Linked DNA regions of Homo sapiens: all the other regions are linked to region 1. The links are contacts of gene promoters, found by promoter capture Hi-C in human tissues and cell types (Jung and others, 2019). All regions are on one chromosome and are shown on one strand. Each heading gives the region's core, a stretch centred on a gene start or on the middle of the fragment in contact. The rest is flanking DNA. Distances are from core to core; before and after follow the strand shown. Region 1 holds the start of NEUROG3 (neurogenin 3). Region 2 has its middle 7.2 kb from the start of FAM241B. Region 3 holds the start of LOC105378345 (a long non-coding RNA gene). Region 4 has its middle 21 kb from the start of FAM241B.

Evidence for each region. The method cuts DNA at HindIII sites, captures the fragments that hold promoters and counts their contacts. A contact is called where the count stands out against the background at its distance.
Region 2: a fragment that was not itself captured here is called in contact with the fragment with the promoter of NEUROG3 in region 1 in 1 of the 25 tissues and cell types used here (H1 embryonic stem cells).
Region 3: a fragment that was not itself captured here is called in contact with the fragment with the promoter of NEUROG3 in region 1 in 4 of the 25 tissues and cell types used here (H1 embryonic stem cells, IMR-90 fibroblasts, liver and 1 more).
Region 4: a fragment that was not itself captured here is called in contact with the fragment with the promoter of NEUROG3 in region 1 in 1 of the 25 tissues and cell types used here (mesendoderm cells).

The regions. Positions count from the first base shown.
Region 1 is chr10:69,571,854-69,574,950 of GRCh38, reverse strand. NEUROG3 (neurogenin 3) reads left to right here and starts at 1,529. Exons shown (of 2, transcript NM_020999.4): 1 at 1,529-1,741; 2 at 1,907-3,097. The coding sequence starts at 1,908. The coding sequence ends at 2,552. LOC101929021 (a long non-coding RNA gene) reads right to left here and starts at 1,994. Exons shown (of 4, transcript XR_946037.2): 1 at 1,884-1,994; 2 at 1-69. RefSeq lists a silencer at 1,259-1,478 and an enhancer at 2,736-3,097. The HindIII fragment of the contact is 13,443 bases long and covers 1-3,097 here.
Region 2 is chr10:69,635,897-69,638,993 of GRCh38, reverse strand. No RefSeq gene overlaps it. Among named protein-coding and RNA genes, the nearest start is that of FAM241B, 7.2 kb to the right of the region's middle. The HindIII fragment of the contact is 5,328 bases long and covers 1-3,097 here.
Region 3 is chr10:69,537,667-69,540,763 of GRCh38, reverse strand. It overlaps LOC105378345 (a long non-coding RNA gene), which reads left to right and starts at 2,184. Exons shown (of 3, transcript XR_007062177.1): 1 at 2,184-2,272. It also overlaps a transcript of TSPAN15 not described here. The HindIII fragment of the contact is 3,776 bases long and covers 1-3,097 here.
Region 4 is chr10:69,607,800-69,610,896 of GRCh38, reverse strand. No RefSeq gene overlaps it. Among named protein-coding and RNA genes, the nearest start is that of FAM241B, 21 kb to the left of the region's middle. The HindIII fragment of the contact is 6,856 bases long and covers 1-3,097 here.

The DNA of each region.
Region 1 (3,097 bases), core at 280-2,779:
CAACCCCTCACTCTGAGTGACCGGAAGCAGAAGACCACGGGATGTCCCAGGCGGGGACAAGAGGAGGGGCTGGGGAAGAAAGGAGGGATGATGAGTTCAGAGTCCCTTTGGAAAGGTTTCCAGAGAGCGCTACCAGGGACAACCCAAGGGGCTGGGGAAGTCCCTGCCTTGTGCTCTCTGTGCGATGCCCGAGTGATGCAGAGGCAGGGGGCTGGAGCAGGTGACTGCTGGCAGCTGCTGTCTGTCTGTGATTGGACCGGAGGACTAAGGGGAGAAAAAGTTTATCAGCTTCTCCCAGTGCCTGCACGCTGTGGTAGTTCAAAAGACACGAGGGGGAGGGGCACAGCAGCTCTGCTTCCCAGCGCCTTGGGAGACTGAAGTGAAAGGAACGCTTGAGCCCAGGAGTTCGAGACCATCCTGGGCAACAAAGCAAGACCGCCCCTCACCCCATACAAAATAAAAATACAAATAAATTAGCCGGGCACAGTGGCGCATGCCTGTAGTCTCAGCTACTGGGAAGGCTGAAGTGGGAGGATAGCTTGAGCCCAGGAGATCAAGGCTGCAGTGAGCTGTGATTGCACCACTGCAGTCCAGCCTGGGCGACAGAAGGAGACCGTTTTTTGGTTTTGTTTGTTCGTTTAAAAAAAAAAAGAAGCAAGAGCTCACTGTGAACTCCTGGTTCCTTCCTCCCCTCCTCACACTTCCCAGAACTCTTCCTGTCACGGTTCCTGGCCAGAACGCTGGGATACTATCTACAAGCTGTAGTAGGCTTGTAGTAATGGAATGTCCGCTTGAGGGGTCCCCGCACAGCCAACCCCTGCCTCTGGAGTGGGATCTATGGGGGTGGGGTTCTAAGCGCCTCTGGGGAGTGTGAGGTAGCATCTCAGGGTGTGGCAGAGGCTCGGACACCCCCAAAAGGTCTGCGAATGGAAGGGACATAGGCAGGATCTCTCTCAGTGATGTCCCCTGTCTTCCAGGATGAAGAGAGGCAGTGAAACACCAGGAGAGCAGGGCGTCCTTTAGAATTCCTGGACCCTTCTCCAGGCTGCTAGTCAGGACAATGAGCTCGTGGTTGTCTTTGCCACTATCTTCCTGTGCGATTTCAGACAAGCCACCTCCCTCACTAAGCCTAAATTTCCCCATGTGTAACGTGCAGGCATTGTACCCTAGAGGCATCAAAGTCCCCTCCAGGACAGATGCTAAGGAAAGATAGGCTAGGAGCAAAGCCGTCTGAGGTGGCCTGACCAGAGCCACACGAGGCTCTTCTCACTGGGCGAGGCTCTTTGAGGAACCGAGAGTTGCTGGGACCCAGCCCGCCCTCGAGAGAGCAAACAGAGCGGCGCTCCCCTCCCCCGACCCCGGCCCTTTGTCCGGAATCCAGCTGTGCCCTGCGGGGGAGGAGCGGGCTCGCGTGGCGCGGCCCCAGGGCCCCGGCGCTGATTGGCCGGTGGCGCGGGCAGCAGCCGGGCAGGCACGCTCCTGGCCCGGGCGAAGCAGATAAAGCGTGCCAAGGGGCACACGACTTGCTGCTCAGGAAATCCCTGCGGTCTCACCGCCGCGCCTCGAGAGAGAGCGTGACAGAGGCCTCGGACCCCATTCTCTCTTCTTTTCTCCTTTGGGGCTGGGGCAACTCCCAGGCGGGGGCGCCTGCAGCTCAGCTGAACTTGGCGACCAGAAGCCCGCTGAGCTCCCCACGGCCCTCGCTGCTCATCGCTCTCTATTCTTTTGCGCCGGTAGAAAGGTAATATTTGGAGGCCTCCGAGGGACGGGCAGGGGAAAGAGGGATCCTCTGACCCAGCGGGGGCTGGGAGGATGGCTGTTTTTGTTTTTTCCCACCTAGCCTCGGAATCGCGGACTGCGCCCAGTGACGGACTCAAACTTACCCTTCCCTCTGACCCCGCCGTAGGATGACGCCTCAACCCTCGGGTGCGCCCACTGTCCAAGTGACCCGTGAGACGGAGCGGTCCTTCCCCAGAGCCTCGGAAGACGAAGTGACCTGCCCCACGTCCGCCCCGCCCAGCCCCACTCGCACACGGGGGAACTGCGCAGAGGCGGAAGAGGGAGGCTGCCGAGGGGCCCCGAGGAAGCTCCGGGCACGGCGCGGGGGACGCAGCCGGCCTAAGAGCGAGTTGGCACTGAGCAAGCAGCGACGGAGTCGGCGAAAGAAGGCCAACGACCGCGAGCGCAATCGAATGCACAACCTCAACTCGGCACTGGACGCCCTGCGCGGTGTCCTGCCCACCTTCCCAGACGACGCGAAGCTCACCAAGATCGAGACGCTGCGCTTCGCCCACAACTACATCTGGGCGCTGACTCAAACGCTGCGCATAGCGGACCACAGCTTGTACGCGCTGGAGCCGCCGGCGCCGCACTGCGGGGAGCTGGGCAGCCCAGGCGGTTCCCCCGGGGACTGGGGGTCCCTCTACTCCCCAGTCTCCCAGGCTGGCAGCCTGAGTCCCGCCGCGTCGCTGGAGGAGCGACCCGGGCTGCTGGGGGCCACCTTTTCCGCCTGCTTGAGCCCAGGCAGTCTGGCTTTCTCAGATTTTCTGTGAAAGGACCTGTCTGTCGCTGGGCTGTGGGTGCTAAGGGTAAGGGAGAGGGAGGGAGCCGGGAGCCGTAGAGGGTGGCCGACGGCGGCGGCCCTCAAAAGCACTTGTTCCTTCTGCTTCTCCCTGGCTGACCCCTGGCCGGCCCAGGCCTCCACGGGGGCGGCAGGCTGGGTTCATTCCCCGGCCCTCCGAGCCGCGCCAACGCACGCAACCCTTGCTGCTGCCCGCGCGAAGTGGGCATTGCAAAGTGCGCTCATTTTAGGCCTCCTCTCTGCCACCACCCCATAATCTCATTCAAAGAATACTAGAATGGTAGCACTACCCGGCCGGAGCCGCCCACCGTCTTGGGTCGCCCTACCCTCACTCAAGTCTGTCTGCCTCTCAGTCTCTTACCACCCCTCCTCCAATGTGATTCAATCCAATGTTTGGTCTCTCAGCGCTTACTCCCCTTGCCTTGCTCCAAAGACGCTGCCGATCTGCTCTACTCCCAATCAGGTCCGGGATTTCAGGGCGCCTCACTCTGCCTTAAAGCCACGAAGGCGACCCTC
Region 2 (3,097 bases), core at 440-2,939, 64 kb before region 1:
GAGGAAGTGGGGACAGCAACGTGTTGGACAATGACGTTGGCAATGCCAGGCCAGGCAGCAGCAAAGTCCATCAAGCGTCTACTAAGGGCAAGGCCCTCTGTGGTAGGTGTCGGTCTCAGAGCTGAAAGGGGCCTTCGTGGAAGTCTAGCCCAGCCTGTTTGTTTTTCCAGAATGAGGGAGGCCAGGCGGGGGTCACTCCCTGCCTGTCAGAGGTTGTGGGGAGTCCCTCTCAGCTCGTCTCAGGGTGCAGTGTGACCCAGGAGGCAGTGTTCAGGTGAGGCCACTGCGCCTTTTCAAGGAGCCAGATGAGGGCAGAAATTGCACCCTATCCAACTGCAAAGGAGACTGAGAAACCCTATAAGGTTGTGATATCTCCCCTTGGGCCCTGGAGAAAGGGAGACAGTTCTGTCAAGATCCCCACATTTCAGGGAAAAACCCCATGGGTTGGTTCAGGGTCAGAGCTGCAAGGCCCTGAGGGTCAACTGAGTCAATCCCCCATGGTACAGGTGAGCCCAAGACAGGGTCGACAACTCAAACACCAAAATACTGCAGGATGAAAATGCTCTTCATGTACTCATATAAAATGTGCCAAGATACACTGCTAAGTGAAAAATGCAAAAGGCAGAGAAAAACGTGTCAAATTTTTCTATTATTTGTATAAAAAAAGAAAAAATAGTATATTCATGTTTGCTCATATTTGCATAACTAAATTCTGGAAGTATTTAGAAGACACTAAGAACAGTAGTTATAGTGGAGTGGAGGAGGGATGGATGGATGGGGACAGAGGAGGGAGAAAGGCTTTTCTCTATATACATTTGTACATTATATCATCTGAACCACACGAATGCATTACTTTACAAAGAGTAAGACTTTTAAAATAGCTTGCTCAAGATCATACCATGTTTCCCGCAGTTGTGGGGTACTCTTACCCGCCAGGGAGTGAAATGATTTGGGGTGGTGCACAAGATGATTATAAGCAATTTACAAACACAGCACCGAATCGGATGGTGAGGAAGTCATTCCTCTTTGTTTCTCTTCAGTCCTCTGAATCCATCGAGGAGAATGTCTCAGTGAGGGGCCAGTGAGGCTTCTGCACCACTCCCAATCTTCATAAACTGACTTTTTTAACAAAGAAAGCAGGCATCAGGCTAAGGGCTTGGACAATGGCAGTGACTAGCTAAAATGGAATATCATTCGTTTTGTCCTGGATTCATTTGTACGAATACCTACTGTGAATGGCAAGTAGTATTGGCTTTCCATTTACAATAGTAATATGAAGCTTCCTTTTAAAAAATTAATTTAAGATGTGAGCTGCTGTTAAAAAAAAAAATGTTAAGTGAGTCCTAATACCATTTCTCTGTGAATACAGTAACATTGAGCACTAACTTGTGCCAGAAACGGCTAAGTGCTTCCCATGAATTAATGTACTTGATCCTCTCACTGTGGGAGGTGCAGATGAGGACACGGAGGTTTAGGGAGATGCTGGGTTGTGCCAAGGCCTCTGGTTAACAGAGCTGAAGCCGGGAATGGGAAGCAGGCATTCAGCCCCCAGCAGGGCCCCCGCCCACCAGAGGGACTGGAGCTGGCCGCTGGGCCAATGCAGACCAGCCCTGGCTCCCAGCCCTGTGCCCCACCTGCCTGGGCACTTGGGGCAGTGGCCCTCCAGCTTCATCTCAAGTAGCTCCAACCTTCTCCTTCCAAACTCTGAGTCCCTAAAGCCATTTGGTTTCAGCCCTGCCCCCAGCCTCAAACCAGAGGCTCAGAGGCACACACATACACCCCTCCATACACACCCCCTTTGTAATTCTTTGAAGCTCTCACTCTACCTGCTTCTTGAACTTTCTCTTGCTGCTCTTTTGGGCACTGGGTGGCAGCACCAGGCGGGGTAGGCTTGCTTGTCCTACTGGCTGGGCAGGCTGCAGGTTCTCTATCTAGTTTTGGCAGCAGAGCTCTGCTGCCTCCCTCCCCTGCCCCCACTTAACCCTTTGAGAGATCACTGGATTTGTCACTTTGCAATGAAAATATGCATTCGGGAATGCAGGGAAGAGAGCTAAATCTCCATGACTGTGACCCAGGACTGGGAAGCCACTGAGGCCACCCAGCTGGGCAGCTGCAGCCAGCACCCTTGCACCAACTTCTGTGCCCTCTGCCCCCACACAGCTGATCTCATGGGGCTGCAGGCAGGTCTTAGCAGGTAGTACAGCTGGGCATCTGTATCTGCAGGTTTCTAGGCGATGCTGATGCAGGTACGGCCAGAGGTAAAAGAGAGGAGTGGTCAAGAGCAAGGGCTGTAGGTCTCTGAATCCTAGCTCCACCCAGCTCGCTCTGGGTCCTACAGCAAGTTATAAACCCTCTGCCATGTCCTCTGTCGTGAAATAAAGATGACAGTGACAATATTTATGTCATAAGGTGCTAGTGACAATTAAATGACATAACGTGCTTAGCACAGGGCCAGGCACTCCATACACTCTCAACAAACAGCATCCAGTCCTGACATTCAACACCAGCAACAAGCCCCTCAGCTTTCAGGAGCACAGCGAAGTGGCTGTGTTTCTTCTCTAACAGCTGCGGGAGGGGCAACTCTGCTCTTAAAAGCCCAGCACCGCCCCAGCCAGGGATCCCAGGTGCCTTGGACAAGGCAGCCACTCTGGAGCCAAAGCTGCCAGTACAGAAGCTGTGGGCCATGGTGCAGCACCTGCAGAGGCAGCTCAGGGGCAGGCGCAGTCCCCCTCTCCACGGCCCTCTGCCCACCTCCTACCCACCATGCTTTCAGTGATCCCCTGAAAGGCTCTGAGAGGCGGGCAGGTCCCAGATCATCATCCCTTCACAGGGATGAGGAAACCAAGGCTCAAGAGGCTGAGTGAACTGTCCACAAAGAGCAGAGCCAGGCCTGCAAACAGGCCTCCTGTGCCACCCGGTGAGCCAGAGCGCAGGGGCGGCTTTCCTCCCCTGTCCTCAGGTTCAGGCATCCAAGTGGACAGACGCCTTGACCACTGCCTCAGGGCTTCCCCCTCAGACCCATGGAGCTAGAAAGGCCCCAGAGAGGGAGCCCAACATCCCCAGCCCTCACCTATGCTAAAAGGCCCCGTCACAGGGA
Region 3 (3,097 bases), core at 360-2,859, 34 kb after region 1:
TCTAACCACATGCCCAGATCCCCAGACCCCATCTCAGAGAGTCCATCTTGTGGCAGCTCTGCCCTCCAGCATGCAAGCATGTTGGGGTATATCCTCCATAGAGCAGACACACAGACTTCACTCTCACCAAGGCCTCCAGCACCACTTAGGGCAGCCAGCTCTCCTTCAAGAATTGAAAACTTCAGTTGCCACATTCAACCCTCCCACCACATTTTGTCGCTGGGGACCTCATCTCGTAATTCATGGAGAAAAAAATAGAAGCCTTCTGATTGAAATCCCCTCACATTCATGCCCCCTTGCCTACAAGCAGTGGCCAAACGACTATTTCCCAATACCCATCCTCCTCTTTTTCATCTTGGGAGGATTTTAAGCTGTGCATGGGCACCAAAATAAAGACTACATTTGCAGTGGTGCAATCTCAGCTCACTGCAAGCTTTGCCTCCCGAGTTCACACCACTCTCCTGCCTCAGCCTCCTGAGTAGCTGGGACTACAGGTGCCTGCCACCACGCCTGGCTAATTTTTTTAAATGTTTTTTGTAGAGATGGGGTTTCACCGTGTTAGCTAGGATGGTCTCGATCTCCTGACCTCATGATCCACCCACCTTGGCACTTTGAGAGGCCGAGGCAGGTGGATCACTTGAGATCAGGAGTTCGAGACCAGCCTGGCCAACATGGTGAAACCCTGTCTCTACTAAAAATACAAAAATTAGCCGGGCATCATGGTGCATGCCTGTAATCCCAACTATTCAGGTGGCTATGGCAGCCTGGGTGACAGTGAGACTCTGTCTCAAAAAAAAAAAAAGACTACATTTTCCAGCATCCCCCTGCAGCAAAGTGTGGCTGAGGGCTAAGCTCTAGCCTATGTGAGATAAGTAAAAGTGATATATGTGTTTCTGGGTTTCTTCCTTAAAAGGAGGGTGTTGTACACTCTTTCCCATCTTCTTGCTAGCTGGAACATGAACATGATGGCTGGAGCAGGAGCAGCTGTATTGGTCTTGAGGTAAATCTGGAGACAGGTTATTCCCCTGGGAGCAACATAATAGAAGGAATCTGAGCTCCTCTCACCATGGAATCAGCCCCAAACTAATTTCTGGAGACTTCTTCAGCATGAGAGAGACACTCTCTGGTTGGAGCCCTGTTCCTTTTCCTTTTCCTTTGAATTTTCTATTCCTTAATCCTGCAGGGGCTGAGTCTTCTTCTCCTTCTCCTTCTCCTTCTCCTTCTCCTTCTTCTTCTTCTTCTTCTTCTTCTTCTTCTTCTTCTTCTTCTTCTTCTTCTTCTCCTTCTCCTTCTCCTTCTCCTTCTTCTTCTTCTTCTTCTTCCTTCTTCTTCTTCTTTCTTCTTCTTCCTCTTCCTCTTCCTCTTCTTCCTCTTCCTCTTCTTCTTCTATTTTTTTTGTTACATGAATGAGTTCTTTAGTGGTAGTTTCTGAGATTTTGGTGTAGCCATGACCTGAGCAGTGTACACCATACCCAGTGTGTAGTCTTTTATCCCTCACTCCCCTCCCACCCTTTCCTGCAAGTCTCCGAAGTCCATTATATCATTCTTATGCCTTTGTGTCCTCATAGCTTATCTCCCACCTATACATGAGAACATACAATATTTGGTTTTCCATTCCATCTCAGAGGCCTTCAAGCCCCCAGGCCTGGTTCCTACTCTATCAACTGCTCTCTGTCTCCAAAAGACTGTCCTTGCTAATGTCACCAAGGACCTCTATGAGCCAAATTTAGGACTTTTCAGCCTTCATTTGACTCCCAGTCCCTTCAATATTGAAGGCTGTTGACTACCCCTTCATTTGGAATCTCTCTGTCCCTTCTTTCATGTCCTCACACTCTCTCTGACTAGTCCTCCCTCAAGCTTCTCACAAGGAATGGCTTCCCTTTTCTTCATACTGCACACTACTGCAGGGTAAGTTAATCTAGCTCTTTGCAGGGAGCTGTGGACAGAGCTTGGACACACAGGCTGGGGCGTCTACACGTGCATGCAAGCTCTCAACACACAGGAAGGAACTGGAGGTGGGAAAATAACTCTCAGGCTGGTCATGATCTCTCAAACCAGAATTCCCTTCATGCCAGCTGCCTATGGAGCCTCTAGTCAGTCATTGTGATGGTCATGAGTGACCTCACTGAGTGCTGACTGTGAGCCAGGCTGAGTGATGCACTTTACGTGGATTATCACCCTCTGTGGAGTCCCACACTCCTGTGACTCAGGTGTTGTTACTTCCCTTCAAGGCATCAAGAAGTTAAGGGACTACCCAAGGCCACTGTAGCTAGTAAGTGGGGAAGGTGGGATTCACACCCAGGGGTCTTGCTCCAGAGCCTGGGCCTAAAACCACTCAATATCTTCAAACAAACCTCCTGCTCCTCTGTCAGCCCTTTGTATATCAGAGGTGCCATTATTCATGCCCTCAGAAAAGCCAGGGTCCTGGGAGGAGGGGTCCTCACCTCTCAGACAGGGTCATCACCTCTTACCTCTTTCTCCGACCCACATTCAGCCATCACTAAACCAGGCAAACCCCCATATCAGTAACTTTCAAATCCATTCCTGTTAGGGAATGAATGTTTGTTTCCCCCCTCCATTCCTGTGTTGAAGCTCTAACACTCACTGTGATGGTATTTGGTGATGGGGCCTTTGGAAGGTGATTAGGTTTAGATGAGGTCATGAAGGTGGGGTCCTCACAATGGGATTAGTGCCCTTATAAGAAGAGACTCCAGGGCTTCCTCTCTACCACATGAGGACAGAGTGAGAAGATGGCTGTCTGCAACTGCCCTAAGGGCCATCACAAGAACTCAACCGTGCAGGTCTTGATCTCAGACTTCCAGCCTCCAGAACTGTAAGAAATAAATGTCTGTTGCTTAAGGCCCCCAGCCTATGGTATTTTGTTATAGCAGCCTGAACTAAGACAATTCCCAGTCCCCACCCTCAGGATCCACACCACCACTTCCTTAGTTTGGGCCTCCATCAGATCATGCCAGGACTCTTTCCAGAGCTTCCTGTTAGGGACGGAATCACGTTCTTCCCAGAAATTCATATGCTGGTGTCCTGACTTGTCAGAACCTCAGAATGTGTTCTTATTTGGAAATAGGGTCATTGTAGA
Region 4 (3,097 bases), core at 227-2,726, 36 kb before region 1:
CTCTGTTGTACTGCTTTTTCTCTGTTGTCAAAGATCAGTTGATTATACTTATGTGGGTCTATTTCTGCACTCTTTATTCTGTTTCATTGATCTACTTGTCTATTCTTTCACAAATACCACACTGTCTTGATTACTGCAGTTTTATAGTAAGTCTTGGAGTCAGGTAATGTTAGTCCTTGAACTTTTTAATTCCCCTTCAATATTGTGTTGGCTATTCTGAGACTTTTGCCTACCCATGTAAACTTTAGAATCAGTTTGTCAATAACCACAAAACAACTTGCTGGGATTTACATTGAGATTGTGTTGAATCAAATTGGGAAGAGCTGATATCTTGATAATATTGAGTCTTCCTATCCATGAACATGGGATATCTCTCAATTTATTTAGTTCTTCTTTGATTTCTTTCACAAGAGTTTTGTAGTTTTCCTCGTGTAGATCTTATACATATTTTGTTAGATTTACACCTGAATATTTTATTTTGGGGGATGCTAATGTACTTGATGTTGTGCTTTTAATTTTAAATTCCACTTATTCATTGCTGGTATATAGGAGAGTGATTGAATTTTGTATATTGACCTTGTATCCTACAACCTTGCTATAATGGCTTATTATTTCCAGGAGGGGTTTTTTGGTCAGTTCTTTCAGATTTCTTTCAGATTTCAGATGAAACAAGGAGTTTTCTTTCTTAATTCATAATCTGTACACCTTTTTTCCTTTTCTTATTGCATTAGCTAGGACTTCCAGTATGATGTTGAAAAGCAGTGGTGAGACGGGACATCCTTTCCTTGTTTCTGAAGAAGTGCTTTTAAAACTTATGCTTGAATTGTGTTTGTTCATGTCCCATTGGTCAATACACATCAGTTTCTTTTTTTAAATTTTTTTTAAAAAATTGTAGAAATTGGGTCTTGCTCTGTCACCCAGGCTGATCTCAAACTCCTAGCCTCAAGCAATCCTCCCACCTGAGCCTCCCAAAGTGCTGGGATTACAGTACAAGCTACTGCACCTGGCTCATATTCATTTCCAGAGATGGAGAAATAAACTCTTCATCCCACTTCAAGGGATGCATCTCTCAGTGGCAGGTACAGCTATGTCACACTGTAGAAGGATATGCATGGGATGAATTTGTAGTCATCTTACAGTTTACCATAACTACCTTGCTGGTTCCCTAATAAATTCAAGCAGATGTTGTGTTTTTAAATTAAGTTTTACATTTTAAGATAACTTTATATTTATATTTTATTTTAAGAAATAATACATAGCAATCCATCACACTCTTTACACAGTTTCTTCCAGTGGTAACATTTTGCAGAACTGCAGTACAATATCCCACCAGAGTACTGACATTGACACCATCAGGATAAAGAACACTTTCATCACCACAGTGCTTCTCATATTGCCTTTTTATAGCCACAGCTCATCTTTAATCCTTGTCAACAATGAATCTGTTTTCCATTTCTATAATTTTACTATTGCAAGAGTATGATATAAATGGAATCATATAGTATGTAACCATTTGGAGTTGGCTTTTGTACCCAGTATAATTCTATGCAATTCTATTCATTTAGGTTGTTGTGCCTATCAGTAGTTTATTCCTTTTCACTGCTAAGTAGTATTTCATGATATGGACATACCACGGTTTAACCATTTATACATTATATAACAATTGTGCTGTTTCCAGTTTGGGCTATTAGGAATAAAGCTATTATAAAGATTCATGTACAAGTTTTTGTGTGAATCTAAGTCTTCATTTTCTAATTGAATTGTTTGGGTTTTTACTGTTTAGTTTTGAGAGTTCTGTATATATTCTAGATATTAGTCCTCTGTTGGATATAGGCTTTGCAAGTACTTTCCCCACTCCATATCTTGTCTTTTCATCCTTTTAGCAGAGTCTTTGACAGAGAACAGGTTTTGAATTCTGATAAAGTCCAATTTATCCATTTTTTTTCTCTTATAGTTCTTGCTTTTGGCACCATGTCTAAAAGCTCTTTATCCCTACATCCTGAAGAATTTTTATAATTTTTTCTACAAGTTTTATAATGTTATGTTTACACTTAAGTCTAGAATCTGTTGATTTAATTTCTGCATAAGTGATGAGTTTCTTTTCTTTCCTTTCCTTTTTCCTATGAACATCCACTGGCTTCAACACCACTTCTTGAAATGGCTACCTTTTCTTCATTTAATTGCATTTGTACCTTTATTTTTAAAAATCACTTCGAGCTGGGAGTGGTGGCTCATGCCTGCAATCCCAGCACTTTGGGAGGTCAAGGCAGGCAGATCACTTGAGCCTAGGAATTTGAGAGCAGCATGGGGAACATGGCAAAATCTCATCTCTACTAAAAATACAAAAATTAGCTGGGCATGGTGGCATACACCTAGAGTCCCAGCTACTCAGGAGGCTGAGGTGGGAGGCTCGTTTGAGGCCAGGAGACAGAGGTTGCAGTGAGCCAAGATCATGCCACTGCACTCCAGCCTATCACCCTGTCTCAAAAAAAAAAAAAAATCAGTTAGGCATATTTGTGTGGGTCGTTTCTGGGCTCTCTGTTCTGTTCCATTGATCTATGTGTCTATTCCTCTACACATCCTTGATTACTATAGCTATATAATGTCTCAAAATAAAATAGACTTAATTGATTTAGCTACTATTTTTTTCCAAAATTGTTTTGCCATTCTAGTTCCTTTGCATTTCCATATAAATTCTAGAATAATTTTGTCTATATCTACAAAAAATCTCTCTGGGATTTTAATAGGAATTGTGTTAAACCTGTATATCAATTTGGACAGAATTAACATCTTTACTATGTTGAATCTTCCCATTCATAAACATGGTGTGTTTCTCCATGTATTTAAAATTATTAATACTTCAATTTTTTAATCAACATTGTGTAGTTTTCAGTATACAAAAGTTTTGTATGTGTTTTGTTAGATTGATGCCTACATGTTTTTTTTTTCCTGGAGTGATTATAAATGGTATTGTATTTTTAATTTTACTGTCCACATAGTCATTGCGAGTACATAGAAATACAATTAATTTGTGTATGTCTATCTTATATTCTTATCAGATCATTCCAACATCTGATTCATCTTGGTGTTAGTATCA